Regions from separate parts of the Homo sapiens genome. Here regions 1, 2, 4, 5 and 6 are each linked to region 3. Evidence: promoter capture Hi-C in 16 types of primary human blood cells and fetal thymus (Javierre and others, 2016). All regions are on one chromosome and are shown on one strand. The core of a region is centred on a gene start or on the middle of the fragment in contact, and the rest is flanking DNA. Distances in the headings are between cores, read along the strand shown. Region 1 has its middle 18 kb from the start of OR4N5. Region 2 holds the start of OR4N5 (olfactory receptor family 4 subfamily N member 5). Region 3 holds the start of OR4L1 (olfactory receptor family 4 subfamily L member 1). Region 4 has its middle 20 kb from the start of OR4K1. Region 5 has its middle 7.3 kb from the start of OR4K15. Region 6 has its middle 16 kb from the start of OR11G2.

Region 1 (2,700 bases), core at 192-2,691, 97 kb after region 3:
AGGTTTGTTATATAGGTAAACTTGTGTCATGGAGGTTTGTTATATTGATTATTTCATCATCCAGGTATTAAGCTTAGAATCCATTACTTATTTTTCATGATCCTCTCCCTCGTCCCATCCTCCATCCTTTGATAAGCCCCATTGTCTGTTGTTCCCCTCTATGTCTGTGTCATTTAGCTGCCACTTACAAGTGAGAACATATGGTATGTAGTTTTCTGTTCCTGCATTAGTTTGCTAAGGATAATAGCCTCCAGCTCCATCCATATTTCTGCAAAGGAGTATTTATATTTCCACTCATAAGTATTGGTTTTCTATTCCTGTGTTAGTTTGCTTAGGATAATGGCCTCCAGCTCCATTCAGGTTGCTGCAAAGTATATGATCTCATTCTTTATTTTATGGCTGCATTGTATTTCATGGAGTATATGTACCACATTTTCTTTATCCAGTCTCCCATTGATGGCATTTAGGTTGAATCTATGTCTTTGCTATTGTGAATAGTGCTTCAATGAACATACGCGTGCATGTGCCTTTATGGTGGAACAATTTATATTCCTTTGGGTGTATACCCAGTAATGGGATTGCTGGGTTAAATGGTAGCTCTATTCTTACGTCTCTGAGGAATTGCCACAGTTTTCCATAAAGGTTGCACTAATTTACACTTCACTGGTACAAAAAAGGATGCATAGACCAATGGAACAGAATAGAGAGCCCAGAAATATGGCTGCATACCTACAATAATCTCATCTTTGATGAAGTTGACAAAAGTAATGGGGAAAGGATTCCTAATCAATAAATGGTGCTGGGATAACTTGCTAGCCATATGCAGAAGATTGAAACTGGACCTCTTCCTTACACCATATACAAAAATTAACTCAAGATGTATTAAAGACTCAAATGTAAAACCAAAAACTATAAAAACTCTGTAAGACAACCAGGCAATACCATTCAGGACATGGGAACAAATATTTCATGACAAAGACACCAAAAGCAAAAATTGACAAATGGGATCTAATAAAACTAAAGAGCTTCTGCACAGCAAAAGAAACTATCAAGAGAGTAAACAGCCAACCCACAGAATTGGAGAAAACTTTTACAAACTATATCTGACAAAGGTCTAATATCCACATCTATAAGAAATATAAACAAACTTACAAGAAAAAAATAACCCCATTAAAAATTGGGCAAATGACATGAACAGACACTTTTCAAAAGAAGACATACATGTGGCCAACAAATATATGAAAAAAAAAACTCAACTTCACTGATCATTAGAGAAATGCAAATCAAAACCACAATGAGATACCATCTCTCACCAGTCAGATGGCTATTATTAAAAAGTAAAAAAATAACAGATGCTGGCAAGGTTGTGGAGAAAAAGGAATGCTTATACAAAGTTTTTGAAAGACAGACAACTGAAAACATTTTAGAGCCTAAGATACTTTCAGAGGAGAGCAGGTACAAAAAGGTGACCAAGTGACATGAGCATTTGAGAGCAAACAGTGTGGCAGGCACCTAGAGTAAATAATATGTAATAAGAAAGAAAACACTACTTAAAAAGAGGTGAACTATTCTTCAGAGAGAAAGTTTTAGACAGCAATTTGTCAAATACACTGTATCTCATATTTATATTTGAGTTGATAAAAGTTAAAATCAAATTAGCTAATAAATAACAAAACCCTGAAATGGGGCTAGAATAATGGATCCATAAACAATGATGATAGATATATTAATAATAGATTCATTAAGTACTGGGCCTGAGAAACCACTGAGAGTTGGAGCTCAACCACCTTATTTTACCAATGAAGAAACTGAACCCAGAGGAAAAGATAAGGCAGCTATTGGAGATAAAGCTGGTTCCAGTATCAGTCTGCCATCTTCATTTCAACATTCTTTTCAAATATCATGCTGATCCTTTTTTAAAAAAAAAATTTATTTTAGGTTCAGGGGTACATGCACAGGTTCGTGATACAGGTAAACTTGGGGATTTGTTGTACAGACAATGTTGTGACCCAGGTACTAAGCCTAGTATCCAATAGTTATTTTTTCCTGCTCCTCTCCCTACTCCCACCCTACTACTACCCTCTGGTAGGCCCCAGTGTCTGCTGTTCCCCACTTTGTGTGCACATGTTTGCCTTAAGTTCATAGAATTCAGAGAAGGATAAAGATCATGACTATCCATATGACATCTCTTGGTTCATATTAACTAACTAGAGTGACATTTCTAGACTGTGGACTCCAATTATCACTAGATCAGTGTTATTTCCATGAATATGAATGTAGGTCTGTTGAAGACTATAGCTAATGTATGAATTACAAAACCAAGTTTACTCAAAGTATACAATTTTATAAAGACAAGTGAGATGCGACATGGGAGCTAAAAGCAGAAAGCAAGATATTTAGATGTCACGAGAAATGTCACTTGTACTCACAGTGTATTTCTTGCTTCCTCTAGAATATGCAGTCAAGGTTAGAATGTGATGGGGCTAGTCAGTGTCTCAAAATATTGATTCCTGCTACTTAAACACAGCTGCCTTTGCAACTTATGGGCCTTGTAAAAGCATTTCTAGAAATGTGGGTTTCTGCCACAGCAAGCCATGGGTAATGACAGTCACATTAGAGAACAGTCATCTCTGCCAGAAAGCTCTGGAAGTTCAGGAGGGAAACTACAGCAGTCTCTTTCACTGCAAACTTTACTGCATC
Region 2 (2,739 bases), core at 59-2,558, 78 kb after region 3:
CACCAGGCAAAGTTACCAACATCATCTTTTGTACTTGGTACTGCAACATCTTCAAACTGTTCTCCTTGCTCCTATACTTGCCTCCCTCAAACCCATTCTCCACACAATAGCCAGAACGACCTGAAGATTACAATTGTTGACATTATAATTACACACTGAGAATAACCTCCAAATGCCATGAGCTGGATAACATCTGCCTACCTCTCTAATGTTGCCTTATACTTTTCCTTCTTATGCTCACCATTTCCTCATCATGATGGTCTCCTTTCTGTGCCTTACTGTACCAGCTCAATCCTCTTCCACAGTCTCCATTCTCGTTCTTCACATTGCCTGAAATGCCCTACCCTAGTCATTCAAACCTCAGCTTAACTTTCAGCTCCTCAGGGATAACTTTTCTAACTACTCAATCTAAAATAACAGCACCACCCCCCGCCCTCATTCACCCTCCAACACATCCCTCTGTTATATTCTTTCATTCTCCCACATTTTACTGTCTTTTTTGTTGTTGTTGTTGTTCTTTGTCTGGCTCCCTCCACTGGAATGTCAAATCCCTGAGACCGAGGACCTTGTATATAATAACCAGTGCCTAATCACTTACCTATGTAATAAGTTTTCCAAATGATAAACACCTAAAACCTTTTGTAAAGTAAGGAAATATATTTTCAGTTTTTTAGATGACAAAACATCGGAGGAAGTTTTTGACATTTTCTCAAAAAACAGAACCATCATGGTTGGAACCAGGACTGCAAACTTGTCTTTTGAGCTCCAGTCTTGTGCTAGTTTCACCACATTTGGATGCCTTGTTTAGAAAGCTAGTTCAGGCCACTCTGAGATACATCTTTTAAAACACACAGACATTCACACAAACATACATCTTTCTTTTTAATAGTATAAAATTGCCTAAGATGAAAAAGCATTCTCAGCAGAGGGGAAAGGTCTATTTTGCACTAGTTAATATCTCAGTTAAAATATCTTCTTCTAACTAATTCTAAAGCATTGTTGTCAATATTGAGAAGTGACATCCCTGGGAAGTCCCTTAATTGCATAAAACAAAACTAAAGTGAAAAATAAAAAACAAAAACAAAACAAAATAATTTGCATTCTCAGAAATATCTTTACCACTCTATCTTTCTCTCTCCATCCATTCCCTTCTCTTATCCTGTCTTTTTTTTTTTCTAAACCTGTGTTTACGGCTTTGTGGTACAAGCATCTCTGTGGGCATTGTTTCTCTTTCTATCCATCTTTTCTCCTATTTTTTTGTGTATGCTTTTTCTCTTTTTTGCCTCTGTTCTCTCTCTTGCAATTATCTTGTATTTCTAACTTTGTATCTTTCTGGGACTGTATTATACTGCTATGCTTTCACCCAAGGAAAATGGTATATGTTAGAAGTTGCAGCACTGATCATAATAGGAAAGAAACCTGCTAAAATGTTATCTACCTCTCTTCATCTCTGTCCACTTTTAAACATCTCTGACTGCATCTCTGGCTGAGCTGGGCATAAACATGAATGAAAGCATACTTGACTGTGTATTGAATTTGCTTTATTAAATTTAAGTTTGGTATTTTAATTTTAATGTGACTCTGAGGAATGGCATCTTTCTTTATAATGTGTTACAAAAAAAACTTACATTGATTTTTTTCTTGTATGATTAGATATTTTTATGTTATATTATTTCATTAAAAACCAGAAAGCTCATTATCCTATAGCAGGGCTTAGGAACCATATATTCAAAAAAACCAATAATACAATAGAGTATTTCTTCTTTTACTTGAGGGGCACTCCCCTGGAGGAACTGGTCTACAAGATGCATAAAGTTCTTTTTATTTAAAGACAAACTTTGAAATGATAATAATTTAGATATACTGAGTTAAATGAAGCATTATTAACATTGAATTAATCATTAATCATTTTGCCTAATAAGTGTATGGGACATTCCATTATCACTGCCACTGATAAAATACCAAATTCAAAACCCTAACATGATTCAATGGGGTATTCACTGGCATGTGTTTTGAATATTTAATCTTTAAAATGTTCTTGTCTCTTTCTTTGTCTAATTCTAATTGGCAGTCTAATAATTCCCATTGGTAGAACTCTGCAGAATTCAGGTAGCGGTAAAACCCCAAAGTACATTCTCTATTGCATTAATTGTATTACAAATGAATAGAGATTTCAGAATTTATAATATTCCAACATGAGAATATATATTTAAGCACAAATTCTGAAATAATTAGCTAATCTCCCTTTTATCAGACAGAAAAGAATAGCCACTTGTTTGAGAGTAGCATTTGGCTCCCGGCAAGGTAAAATTTTTTATCATTCTTTATATTTAAATTAAATAGAGAAAAAGAAAAAAAAAGAAAAATTATACTATTTGTCTTGGTTATCTGCTGCCTTGAAATTTATGAGAACAGAATTCTGCTGCAGAAACAGAGTAAGGGTGAGTTGTAAATTCAGGTGTTCAGCACTTTTCTCAAATATACCTGTTTCTCAAATAAACCTCCTATTATCTAATACTTAGTACTATTTTAAAGGTGCTAAAATTTTTAATTCTACTATTGTTTTAAAAATAAAAATACCAATTGATTATGAAGATTCACCACCTGGATTTCAATTTGTATATAATACAAATGACTGATTTCATCTTTATCCTAAACCAAAGGTAAAGGGAGGAAGAGTGAAGGAATCACAATCAGTCAAAAAGGGCAGGCTGAGTCTCAGAGACAAACTTCATTGAC
Region 3 (2,700 bases), core at 187-2,686:
GGCAGTTTTAAGTTCACAGCAAAATTGAGCAGGAAGTACAAGAGTTCCCGTGTGCCCTCTGATGCCACATACAGTCTCCCCCACCCTTAACAACCTGAACCAGAGTGGTACATTCGTTACCGCTGGTGAGCCTACATTGCACATTATTATCTCCCCAAATTTGTAGTTTACATTAGGATTTACTCTTGATGTTATACATGCTATGGGTTTTGACAAATGTGTTATGTATTTCTAAGTATAGTAGATAAGAATTGTTTCAATACCCTGCAAATTCTCCGTACTTCTCTTATTTCTTCATTTCTCCTTCTTCATTCAAACCCCTGGAAACCACTGAACGTTTAACTGTCTCCAGTTTTTTCTTAGTTTATTTCAAATAAAAGACATGCAACTTTTCCTTTTACTTGAACACTTAGAGGCTATTGCAAAGCTATTAATTGGCCTAAATCCAATATTGTTGTATCTCAAAGAATAGAGAGGCCTGAAGAGAAGGAGAGAGATGAGGGAAGAGTAGGTTGGTGGAGCCGTTAGAAACAACATTTATCAATTGTCTGCCATTCTACATGGGCACGGCTTGTGGTGCCCAAAAATAATGAAAATAGTAACATAAAAGATTACTGGTCACAGATCAAATAACGTGTAATAATAATAATAAAGTTTGAAATAAATATTTTGGGAATTACCAAAATGTGACACAGAGACATAAAGTGAGCACATGCTGTTGGAAAAATGGTGCCAATAGACTTGCTGGATCCAGGGTTGTCACAAACCCTCAGTTTATAAAACATTAAATAACTGCAAAGGACAATAAAGTGAAACACAATAAAAGAGGTATACATGTATATTAAAAAGAAAAATTATTTTAAATAAATTTATATACTTTCATCCATGTATAATTTGCTCCTGATTTGTGTGTGTGTGTGTGTGTGCTTTTTGTTTGTTTGTTTGCTTATTTAGTTTAGAACCATAGAAAAACCTTCATAAATTACTTCAGAGATGTAGAACAATGTAATTCTTCATTTTCTAAATCTTGTATTCCTTATATATTGGGATAACATAATCTCAAGAAGTGCAGGTACAGAATACTATAATAATAAAAGGCAAAATAAAAAGTAATTAATTAGTATCTAATCTTTATATGTGAACAAATGAGTAAGAAAGTCAAGATCCATTGATAAGAGTATGATTTTATGGAATAAACAATAGAAAATGGAACTTCTACTTCTTCAAATGATTTGTAATTACTGCAGAGTAATTGTTTCAAAGTGATATAATATTTAAGCTAATCTCTGTGTTGATATATTTAAAATTATATGATCTCATATCATCAACTATTATCACCAACTAATAGAAATAAGAAAATATTGGTGTTAACTGTGACTTATTTTTTAATTCTCTTTGTATATAAAGAACTTCTGGAACCTTTCTGAGTTGAGTAAATGGATCTTAAAAATGGATCTCTAGTGACCGAGTTTATTTTACTAGGATTTTTTGGACGATGGGAACTTCAAATTTTCTTCTTTGTGACATTTTCCCTGATCTACGGTGCTACTGTGATGGGAAACATTCTCATTATGGTCACAGTGACATGTAGGTCAACCCTTCATTCTCCCTTGTACTTTCTCCTTGGAAATCTCTCTTTTTTGGACATGTGTCTCTCCACTGCCACAACACCCAAGATGATCATAGATTTGCTCACTGACCACAAGACCATCTCTGTGTGGGGCTGCGTGACCCAGATGTTCTTCATGCACTTCTTTGGGGGTGCTGAGATGACTCTTCTGATAATCATGGCCTTTGACAGGTATGTAGCCATATGTAAACCCCTGCACTATAGGACAATCATGAGCCACAAGCTGCTAAAGGGGTTTGCGATACTTTCATGGATAATTGGTTTTTTACACTCCATAAGCCAGATAGTTTTAACAATGAACTTGCCTTTCTGTGGCCACAATGTCATAAACAACATATTTTGTGATCTTCCCCTTGTGATCAAGCTTGCTTGCATTGAAACATACACCCTGGAATTATTTGTCATTGCTGACAGCGGGCTGCTCTCTTTCACCTGTTTCATCCTCTTGCTTGTTTCTTACATTGTCATCCTGGTCAGTGTACCAAAAAAATCATCACATGGGCTCTCCAAGGCGCTGTCCACATTGTCTGCCCACATCATTGTGGTCACTCTGTTCTTTGGACCTTGTATTTTTATCTATGTTTGGCCATTCAGTAGTTTGGCAAGCAATAAAACTCTTGCCGTATTTTATACAGTTATCACACCCTTACTGAATCCGAGTATTTATACCCTGAGAAATAAGAAAATGCAAGAGGCCATAAGAAAATTACGGTTCCAATATGTTAGTTCTGCACAGAATTTCTAGATGTTAGCACTATATAATTAACTTTTAAATGCTACGATAAGATAGTTTGAATAGATTATGTATAATGCATCATTTCACTTTTCTTATGTTATAATAATAACGCATAAAGACAATACTAAATTACTTTAAATTTTACATTTAAGACTTTTATAAACATAAGGATAGAGATCTGCAGCAAAATAGACATAAAAATAGACATAAATAAACATAAAAAGATTATTGAGGATTTTTATCATATACATTCAATATATTCATTAATAAAGAAACAACTGTAAATGAATACATGAAGATATGAATATTATTAGAGGTTATTTTAATATATATT
Region 4 (2,700 bases), core at 103-2,602, 110 kb before region 3:
AATGAATAACCTTCTATTTAGTTTCTGTGGGAAGGATATACAATAGAAGAGCCAAAAGAAACAATATTCAAGCAGACAAAAGAGAAATGGAAACTCCCTAAAGTGGAAAGGGATTGTGTGTTCCAGAAAATGAAAGCAGGAATTTAGTGAATGACCAATGAGTGAGACGAAATGAAGCTGAAGGTTAATATGTAAAATACAGGATAGGAAGGGCTCATTATGGATATTGGATTATATTTCTAGAGCAATGGGGACTATGATGGTCCCTTGGTGTCTACGGGGAATTGGTTCCAAGACCCCCGCAGATACCAAAACCCATGGATGCTTCAGTCCCTTGTATAAAGTGGTGTAGCATTTGCATATAACCTATGCACATTCTCCCGTATACTTTTAAATCATCTCTAAATTACTTATAATATCTAATACGATGTCTACATATCACTTCTTTTAAGTGAATTCAATGTAGTACTTGATGTGTTGCAAATTTCAGTTTTGATTTTGAAGATCTGTGGAATTGTTTTTTTCTAAATACTTTTGATCCGTGATTGATTGAATCCATAGACACAGAACCCACATATACAGAGGAATGACTGCATGTTTATCATTTTAAAGTTGTTTGACTTATTTATCTTATTTTTAAAGATTTATCTTATTTTTAAAGACTGCTCTGAGCATTCAGGAGAAATTGACTGGAAAAAAAAATCAGTGCAGAGAGTTGGAGATTATTAGAAGGCCTTTGAAACATTTAAGGAGAAAGAAAGGGATGGTTTAGACAAGGGAAATTGTAATAGAAAGCTTTGATGGATTGGGCATATTTTAGAGAAAGGTACAGCAGGACTGGAAGTGGGAGTGAGAAAATAGAAGAAGTGAAGTTTCTGGCTGAAACCACTGGGGCAATAGAAATGCCATTACCTGGGTTAAGGGAGACTAAAGGAGGACTAGATTTGGAAACAGAAGAATTGAAATGACTGTGAAAATTAAAGAGAAGATGTGAAGAAGAAACGTGATCTATCAGTCTGGGCTGATGACTGGGCTCCTCTCCTCAATTAAGCTCATCAAACTTCCTGGGCACTCACTCTGTGTCACAACATTTACTTTTGTCTTTGTCCCCTGCTCTTCTCTGTAGATTTCCTAAGTCCTTCTACAGCTCTAATGGGATATGTTTCCACAATATCCAAAAGCAAGCTATTTTTATATCTGGGCAGTTTTACCCACTTATGTCTAAGATTCTTTTCTGATTCTGTTATATGGTCAAGTACTGTGTAGTGATAATTAAAATATTGGATAATTTTGGCAAAATATTGTGTGGTATGGAATTTGAAAACCTTTGACATAAAAATTTTCAAGAAAAGGAAGAAATATAAGATTAGAGAAAGCAAAATTCTAATTTTCTTAGACCCATTGCCAGATTTATATTTCTTTGGATCTAATTTTCTTTAGGCCCTGTGCATGTGTGCTAGTGCTTACTGGCACAGTCACTTTAGATAAGGACAAAGAAAGCACATGGATAGAGGCAGAACATTAAATGAGGGCAAATATAGTTGTTGCAAACTTTGAGGTCACTACATTTCTCTCTCATGACATATGTTCTCATTTGCAATTATAGGCAAACAATTTAAAAGTTCTTACCATCTTGATATGGGGGAGAAGCAACCAAAATATTGTTAATAACTCCCATAGCAAGATGAATTCACTTAACAAAGTTCATTTTTTAATTGGCTTTCGCAATTCATGGGATTGGTTATCTGAGACTTTTGGGAGTGTCATGATATTTAAATAGTTCCTTTATAGGCTCCTGTGATTCTCTTTTTAAAATTATTTTTTAAAAAGTTTTGGAAGCATCTTCTCTTCACCCTGTTGTTACTTTCCTGAGATTTATCTCAAAATTGGTATGTGGAATTTAATCGCATCAAGCTTAAAAGCAACTGTACATGTTGCCATTCAGAGAGATAAAGGGATTCTGGGCTAAAGTTATTACCACAGTCAAGGCAACCTGTGTTTTTGAGCATGAGGACTTGGGGTTTGGGCGTGAGAGCCTAATATAAAACAAAACAGCGAATTATTGCTGTTTTGACTGATTATTGTCACTGCTAACACAAGCATGGGATTGAAGTAGCAAGATAAAAGTGAGCATGTTGATGTATAGTTCAGAAAGAGCAGAGAATATAATTGGGCACTACTTTGTTATCTTAGAGGTGGGAGGATCACTTGAGGCCAGGAGGTCCAGGCTGCCGTGAGCCATGATCACATAGTTGCACTACAGCCTGAGTGACAGCGCAAGACCCTGTCTCTTAAAATAATAATAATACTGATAAATTATTTTAGTGACCAGGTAGACATCCTTAGATAGATGTTTTCAGTAATCAGATCCTTAATTGAGCAATATGTAGCAGTTAAACATATGTTCTTTGCACATTCAAATCTTCAGACTACCAGTGTGCCTTGTGACACTAACTTTAGCACTAAATTGTAGCTGCTTCTAACACAAAGTTAGGATTATAGTAATATTTACTTTATAGCATTGTAAGGATAATAAGGTAATTATTGGTCACATATCACTGTAAGATAACTAAATCAATCTCGTCATACCCAAAAGCCTTTATTCAACTTAATTATCTACATAGTAAGAAGCCGGTTTCTTCCCATAAATGATTATCTTCATTACCAAACTATCTTCTTTCTCTTCTACAACTTTGATTG
Region 5 (2,864 bases), core at 10-2,509, 92 kb before region 3:
AAAAACTTGTACACAAGTGTTCACAGCAGCAGTACTATTGACAATCAAAACTGGAAACAACCCAAATTCCCATCAACTGATGAATGAATAAACAAAATTTCTATATCCTTACAATGGAATATTACATAGCTATAAGAGGGAATACAGTATTGATACATGTCATAACATGGATGAAACTTAAAAACAATATGCCAAGTTAAGGAAGCCAGACACATTATTATTATGTCATATCACTTATTAGAAATGTCCCGAATAGACAATTCCAAAGAGTCAGAAAATAGTTTAATGGTATCCAAGGGCTGCATTTAGGGAGAATGGGAAGTAAATGCTAATGGTTATGGGGTTTCTTTTGGGGTTGTGGAAAATGTTTCAGAGATAGACAGTGGTGATAGCTGCATAACCTTGTTAACATGATAAAATTTACTGAATTGTACACTTTAAAAGGATAAATTTCAGGTAAATGAATTATAAATCATTTTAAAAGAGAAGTAAACAGTATTCATGAATTTTTTATTTAAAAAAACAGTATGAACTTCCACTTCCAGCCATGAGGTACTACTGGATTTAATTTCGCTTCATAATCAATAGGAAAACTGGATAAAATATATCACTACATTGTGTTTAAGCATTAGTCTACATGCAACACAAGACTAAGATCCTTGAGAGAATAAAACATAAGATTAATATTATGATCAACACATTTTCCTCCATGGAGGTACTTTCCACATCTCAGGGCAGCAAAGGTAATTCAAAGCAGAGCACAGTTGACTTCATGAGTTAGAATCCAGAAAACGGAGTTCAGAGAGTTGGCACTTAGAATCCAGAAAATGGAGTTCAGAGAGTTGGCGATGGCCAAAATCTACATCCAGGACAACAACAACAACAACAGAAAAATTACATAGAAAAAAACTCTCCAGAAGTTTCTATGGGGCCCACTTGAGTTGTTACTGAATAGTAAGCTGAGTACACAAAGGCTAAAGCGCGGTGGCTCATGCCTATAATCCTAGCACTTTGGGAGGCCGAGGCGGGTGGATCACCTGAGATCGGGAGTTTGAGACCAGCCTGACCAACATAAAGAAACCCCGTCTCTACTAAAAATACAAAATTAGCCAGGCTTGGTGGCAGTTGCCTGTAATCCCAGCTACGTGGGAGGCTGAAGCAGGAGAATGGGTTGAACCTGGGAGGCGAAGATTGCAGTGAGCCGAGATCACGCCATTGCACTCCAGCCTGGGCAACAAGAGTGAAAACTCCATCTCAATAAATAAATAAAATGAAATAAACCCAAGAACTTAGTCGATCCTGGGCAATGCCTTAAATATCAGATAATTCCTTAATACTAAGGCTAAAGTAGCTTAGAGAAGCCTACTCTAAACCCATCCTAAAATATTTAAAAATAAAATGACATAATTAGCCTAGCCCACAAGTAACTTTGCGACTGAACGAAGACTACTACTTTTGAATAGGAAAAGAAAGAATCCAGCACTCAGAAATATTTTTAGTGTCCATTAATAAATGTAATAAAGCATAAAAATATACATCATAATGAGTAGAATTGGAAACTGATTCAAATAAGCTCAGAAATTACCAAGATGTGGAAATTAGAATAAAATAACTTTAAGAGAGCTGTCATAAGTATGCTCAAGTATATAAATAAAAAATATAAACAGAATGAAGAGAGGAATGGAATATATTAACAACATCAAGATTTCATGAGGTGAAAAATGTTAGACACCACAAAGGAAATTATCAGTAAACTAGAAGACACAGCAATAGAAAATCTCTAAACCAAAGTACAGAGACAAAAATGTGAAAGGAAAAACTGAACAGTGTCACAGCAATATGCAAGAGAATGCCAACTGGCCTAACACGTATGTAACTGGAGTTCCAGAGGAAAGGATAAAATGGGGAACAAAATGTTCTGAATTTGATTGAAAGTTATAATAAAAAAAGTCAAGAAGTTCTACCAACCTCAAGCGAGATAAATCAAAAGAAAATCACAAGAAGACATATCACAATTCATATGGGAAACTTGTCATACAGAAAATATCTTACGGTAGCCATGGATAAAAGAACAACCATATACTGAAAAACCAGGATTTGGATAACTGAGTACTTATTATAAAACAGGATTAGAATTGTTAAAAAAAAAACAGAATGAAAACAACAGAGTCCACACAATCATTTAAGTATGAAAAATATCCTTCAAAATGAAAGTGAAATGAAGACTTTGTAAGTCAAACAAAAGCAAGACATATCATGGTTGATATAATTCTACTACAAAAATGGAAAGTAAAGGAAGTCCCAAATTAAAAAAAAGTAGCAAGGTAGTAGACATAAACCCAACATATCATTTACATTATATGTAAATAGTATAAGAAGTCTACTAAAAGGCAGACATTGCTAGAATGAACAATACAAGCAACAGCCAACTATTTGCTGCCTACCTTGAATCCACTTTAAATATAAAGACACAGACTACTTAAACATAAAAAGATGAACAAAGATATACAATACAATGCAAATAGTAATTATAAAGGAGCTAAAGCAGTCATATCAATATCTGACTCTGTAGATTTCAGAAGAAAAAATATAATCAAAAGTAAAGAGAAGCATGTCATATGATAACGGGCTTAATCAATCATGAATACATACCAATCCTAATCTTTTTGCACCTAATCTCAGAGTTTAAAATAGATAAAATCAAATATTTCTTCTTATCAAATCATATCTTCCACCTGACTTGAAAAATAACATAAACATAAAAACCTACAAAAAATGTTTATAGCAGTTTTATTCATAATCACCAAAAACAGAGAAAAAGCAACCAAGAGGTCCTTCAATATACAAATGGATACACAAACTGT
Region 6 (2,717 bases), core at 145-2,644, 120 kb after region 3:
TATGTTCTCCAAAATCCATTTCAGGGTTGCAAGATCATAATTCTCAGGGTGTTTAAAGCAACACCTTCTGGAAGCCCCTGTACTATCAAAGCTGACTGGTCTTGTAGCATCTTCTCATATGGTACAGGTACCTCTGTGGGTTTTTGTAAAGCTTTCCCTGGGGGAGGTGAAAAGCAGATAAATGTCATTAAATTGTAAGATTAAAAAGCAAAATCATCACTACCTTATTGTGGCTTAATAAAGGCATACATGGTCTTTTGTAATATGTGATTTTAAAATGACTTAATACTACAGCACCCTATTCACATGTAAGAAGTTCTAAACCTGACACCAATCCAAAGGGCCACAATGAAAAGTATATTAAATATATGACTTTAAAAACTACACAAAAGGAGAGAAAAATGTCTGATTTCTTGCATTATTGTCTTTTTTTTAATTATACTTTAAGTTTTAGGGTACATGTGCACAACGTGCAGGTTTGTTACATAAGTATACATGTGCCATGTTGGTGTGCTGCACCCATTAACTCATCATTTAGCATTAGGTATATCTCCTAATGCTATCCCTCCCCCTTCCCCCCACCCCACAACAGTCCCCAGAGTGTGATGTTCCCCTTCCTGTGTTCATGTGTTCTCATTGTTCAATTCCCACCTATGAGTGAGAACATGTGGTGTTTGGTTTTTTGTCCTTGCAATAGTTTGCTGAGAATGATGGTTTCCAGCTACATCCATGTCTCTACAAAGGACATGGACTCATCATTTTTTATGGCTGCATAGTATTCCATGGTGTATATGTGCCACATTTTCTTAATCCAGTCTATCATTATTGGACATTTGGGTTGGTTCCAAGTCTTTGCTATTGTGAATAGTGCCACAGTAAACATTTATGCAGCCAAAAGACACATGAAAAAATGCTCATCATCACTGGCCATCAGAGAAATGCAAATCAAAACCACAGTGAGATACCATCTCACACCAGTTAGAATGGCGATCATTAAAAAGTCAGGAAACAACAGGTGCTGGAGAGGATGTGGAGAAAGAGGAACACTTTTACACTGTTGGTGGGACTGTAAACTAGTTCAACCATTGTGGAAGTCAGTGTGGTGATTCCTCAGGGATCTAGAACTAGAAATACCATTTGACCCAGCCATCCCATTATTGAGTATATACCCAAAGGATTATAAATCATGCTGCTATAAAGACACACGCACACGTATGTTTATTGCGGCACTATTCACAACCAGTATTTCTTAAGCTCTTACTGATCAGGCACTGGTCAAGGTACTCCATTTCATACAGTAATCTTTGCAACGGCCCTTAAGGCATAATTATGACCATTTTATAGTTAAGGAAACTAAGAAAGTATTAATTTCCTATGACTAGTAAAGAAAACTCTTGACTCTAAATCCAGGACTTTTTCTATCTTGTATAGCTGCCTACCACTTGTCCCAATCTGGAAAATTATCTTATCCTTACTTTTTAAAGTACTTTCTAGAAACAGATTGCCCAACATTACAGACGTGGCAGCCCCCTCACTGAACCTGCGCAAACAAAAAAGAGGAGGCAAGCGTGTTGTCATGAGACATCTCTGGGCTGGCTGAGGAGGGGGGTCAACCAAGTTGGGTGTCCAGACTTCTACTGTACTGAACTTTGGGGGAACATTAAAGTATCAGGGAAATGCCTTCTTATCACACTGCATGTGACACAGCTTGGCTCATTCAGTCATAGTCTATCTTCACCCCACTTTCTGGGGTTGACTAATTTAATGAGTAAACAGATTTTTTTAAGTAGTTTTTGTTGTTAATTAACTTGGTCCAAGCAGCCTGGGTACAAAAACACAGTGTTGTGCCCGTGTTCACATTGCCCTCTACAGCCAATGCAGGGTGAATCAGCTAGATTTTTTCTTTTTCTTTTGTTTTGTTTTTTTACTTTCTTTTCTTTTTCTTTTTTTTTTCAATCCAGCCGGGATTTCTGGCAGGTAAACATCATAGTTTCTTCTGCACAGAAGAGATGAGTAATAAAAGGTAAGTAACAATACAGTCTGGTTAAGACTGTTAGCTCAAAAGAACATAAAGCCATTCTGCAAAAGTATAGCCACCCAAAGTCATTCTGCCTTGAGGTGTTTCCAAACAGTGATTGGGAAAGGACGCAAAAAAATGTAAAGTTTTTTTCTTCTCTTCAAGTTTCCTGCTAAACCTATCTTAACATTGGATCGCTAATATCAGGTTCCACTGTTTATGTAACTAGAATGGTAACCAATGGATTTTGCAGACTCATATTCCCAATCCAGAAAATCAAAGACCTGTTTCAACAAGACAAAATTAAACCTGATTCTATTCCTCAGCTCCATCTACCCTTGATGGCTGGGGAACTCTTTTAACAGAAGTGAGAAGCAGCTACCTACTATTAATTTGAACATTTTACTCCTGAAATTGGTAAATTGCATTACCAAATAGCATGAATTAATGAGTTAGTTCACTATCTCAAAAGAGAAAAGTGATTTCAAATAGATCCAAGGGTCCTTTGTTCCACAGACACACAATCTGAGTCAGCCTTGCCCAAAATTATTGTGTGGATGTGATCCCTTTCTGGGAAATAAGAAAGTGTATTTATTCATTCATTTTATGGGTATTTATTGAAAGCTTTCTAAGTACAAAGCACTGTGCTAATGCCTAATCACCTCTGGTGAAGTAACTTCTCAAATTGACTTCAAGCCAG

What was found. The method cuts DNA at HindIII sites, captures the fragments that hold promoters and counts their contacts. A CHiCAGO score of 5 or more calls a contact.
Region 1: a fragment that was not itself captured here is called in contact with the fragment with the promoter of OR4L1 in region 3 in 2 of 17 cell types (M2 macrophages and M1 macrophages); the score reaches 8.8 in M2 macrophages.
Region 2: a contact is called between a fragment that was not itself captured here and the fragment with the promoter of OR4L1 in region 3, in 10 of 17 cell types (M2 macrophages, M1 macrophages, naive CD4 T cells and 7 more). The highest score is 11.0, in M2 macrophages.
Region 4: a contact is called between a fragment that was not itself captured here and the fragment with the promoter of OR4L1 in region 3, in 5 of 17 cell types (total CD4 T cells, naive CD4 T cells, naive CD8 T cells and 2 more). The highest score is 7.3, in total CD4 T cells.
Region 5: a fragment that was not itself captured here is called in contact with the fragment with the promoter of OR4L1 in region 3 in 1 of 17 cell types (neutrophils); the score reaches 8.9 in neutrophils.
Region 6: a fragment that was not itself captured here is called in contact with the fragment with the promoter of OR4L1 in region 3 in 3 of 17 cell types (M2 macrophages, M1 macrophages and neutrophils); the score reaches 6.7 in M2 macrophages.

What each region holds. Positions count from the first base shown.
Region 1 is chr14:20,155,210-20,157,909 of GRCh38, forward strand. No RefSeq gene overlaps it. Among named protein-coding and RNA genes, the nearest start is that of OR4N5, 18 kb to the left of the region's middle. The HindIII fragment of the contact is 2,743 bases long and covers 71-2,700 here.
Region 2 is chr14:20,136,587-20,139,325 of GRCh38, forward strand. OR4N5 (olfactory receptor family 4 subfamily N member 5) reads left to right here and starts at 2,234. Exons shown (of 3, transcript NM_001004724.2): 1 at 2,234-2,304. The HindIII fragment of the contact is 3,856 bases long and covers 1-2,739 here.
Region 3 is chr14:20,058,609-20,061,308 of GRCh38, forward strand. OR4L1 (olfactory receptor family 4 subfamily L member 1) reads left to right here and starts at 1,437. Exons shown (of 1, transcript NM_001004717.1): 1 at 1,437-2,375. The coding sequence starts at 1,437. The coding sequence ends at 2,375. The HindIII fragment of the contact is 2,043 bases long and covers 1-1,992 here.
Region 4 is chr14:19,949,359-19,952,058 of GRCh38, forward strand. No RefSeq gene overlaps it. Among named protein-coding and RNA genes, the nearest start is that of OR4K1, 20 kb to the left of the region's middle. The HindIII fragment of the contact is 1,119 bases long and covers 794-1,912 here.
Region 5 is chr14:19,966,838-19,969,701 of GRCh38, forward strand. No RefSeq gene overlaps it. Among named protein-coding and RNA genes, the nearest start is that of OR4K15, 7.3 kb to the right of the region's middle. The HindIII fragment of the contact is 6,542 bases long and covers 1-2,864 here.
Region 6 is chr14:20,173,654-20,176,370 of GRCh38, forward strand. It overlaps the pseudogene GTF2IP22. Among named protein-coding and RNA genes, the nearest start is that of OR11G2, 16 kb to the right of the region's middle. The HindIII fragment of the contact is 2,490 bases long and covers 150-2,639 here.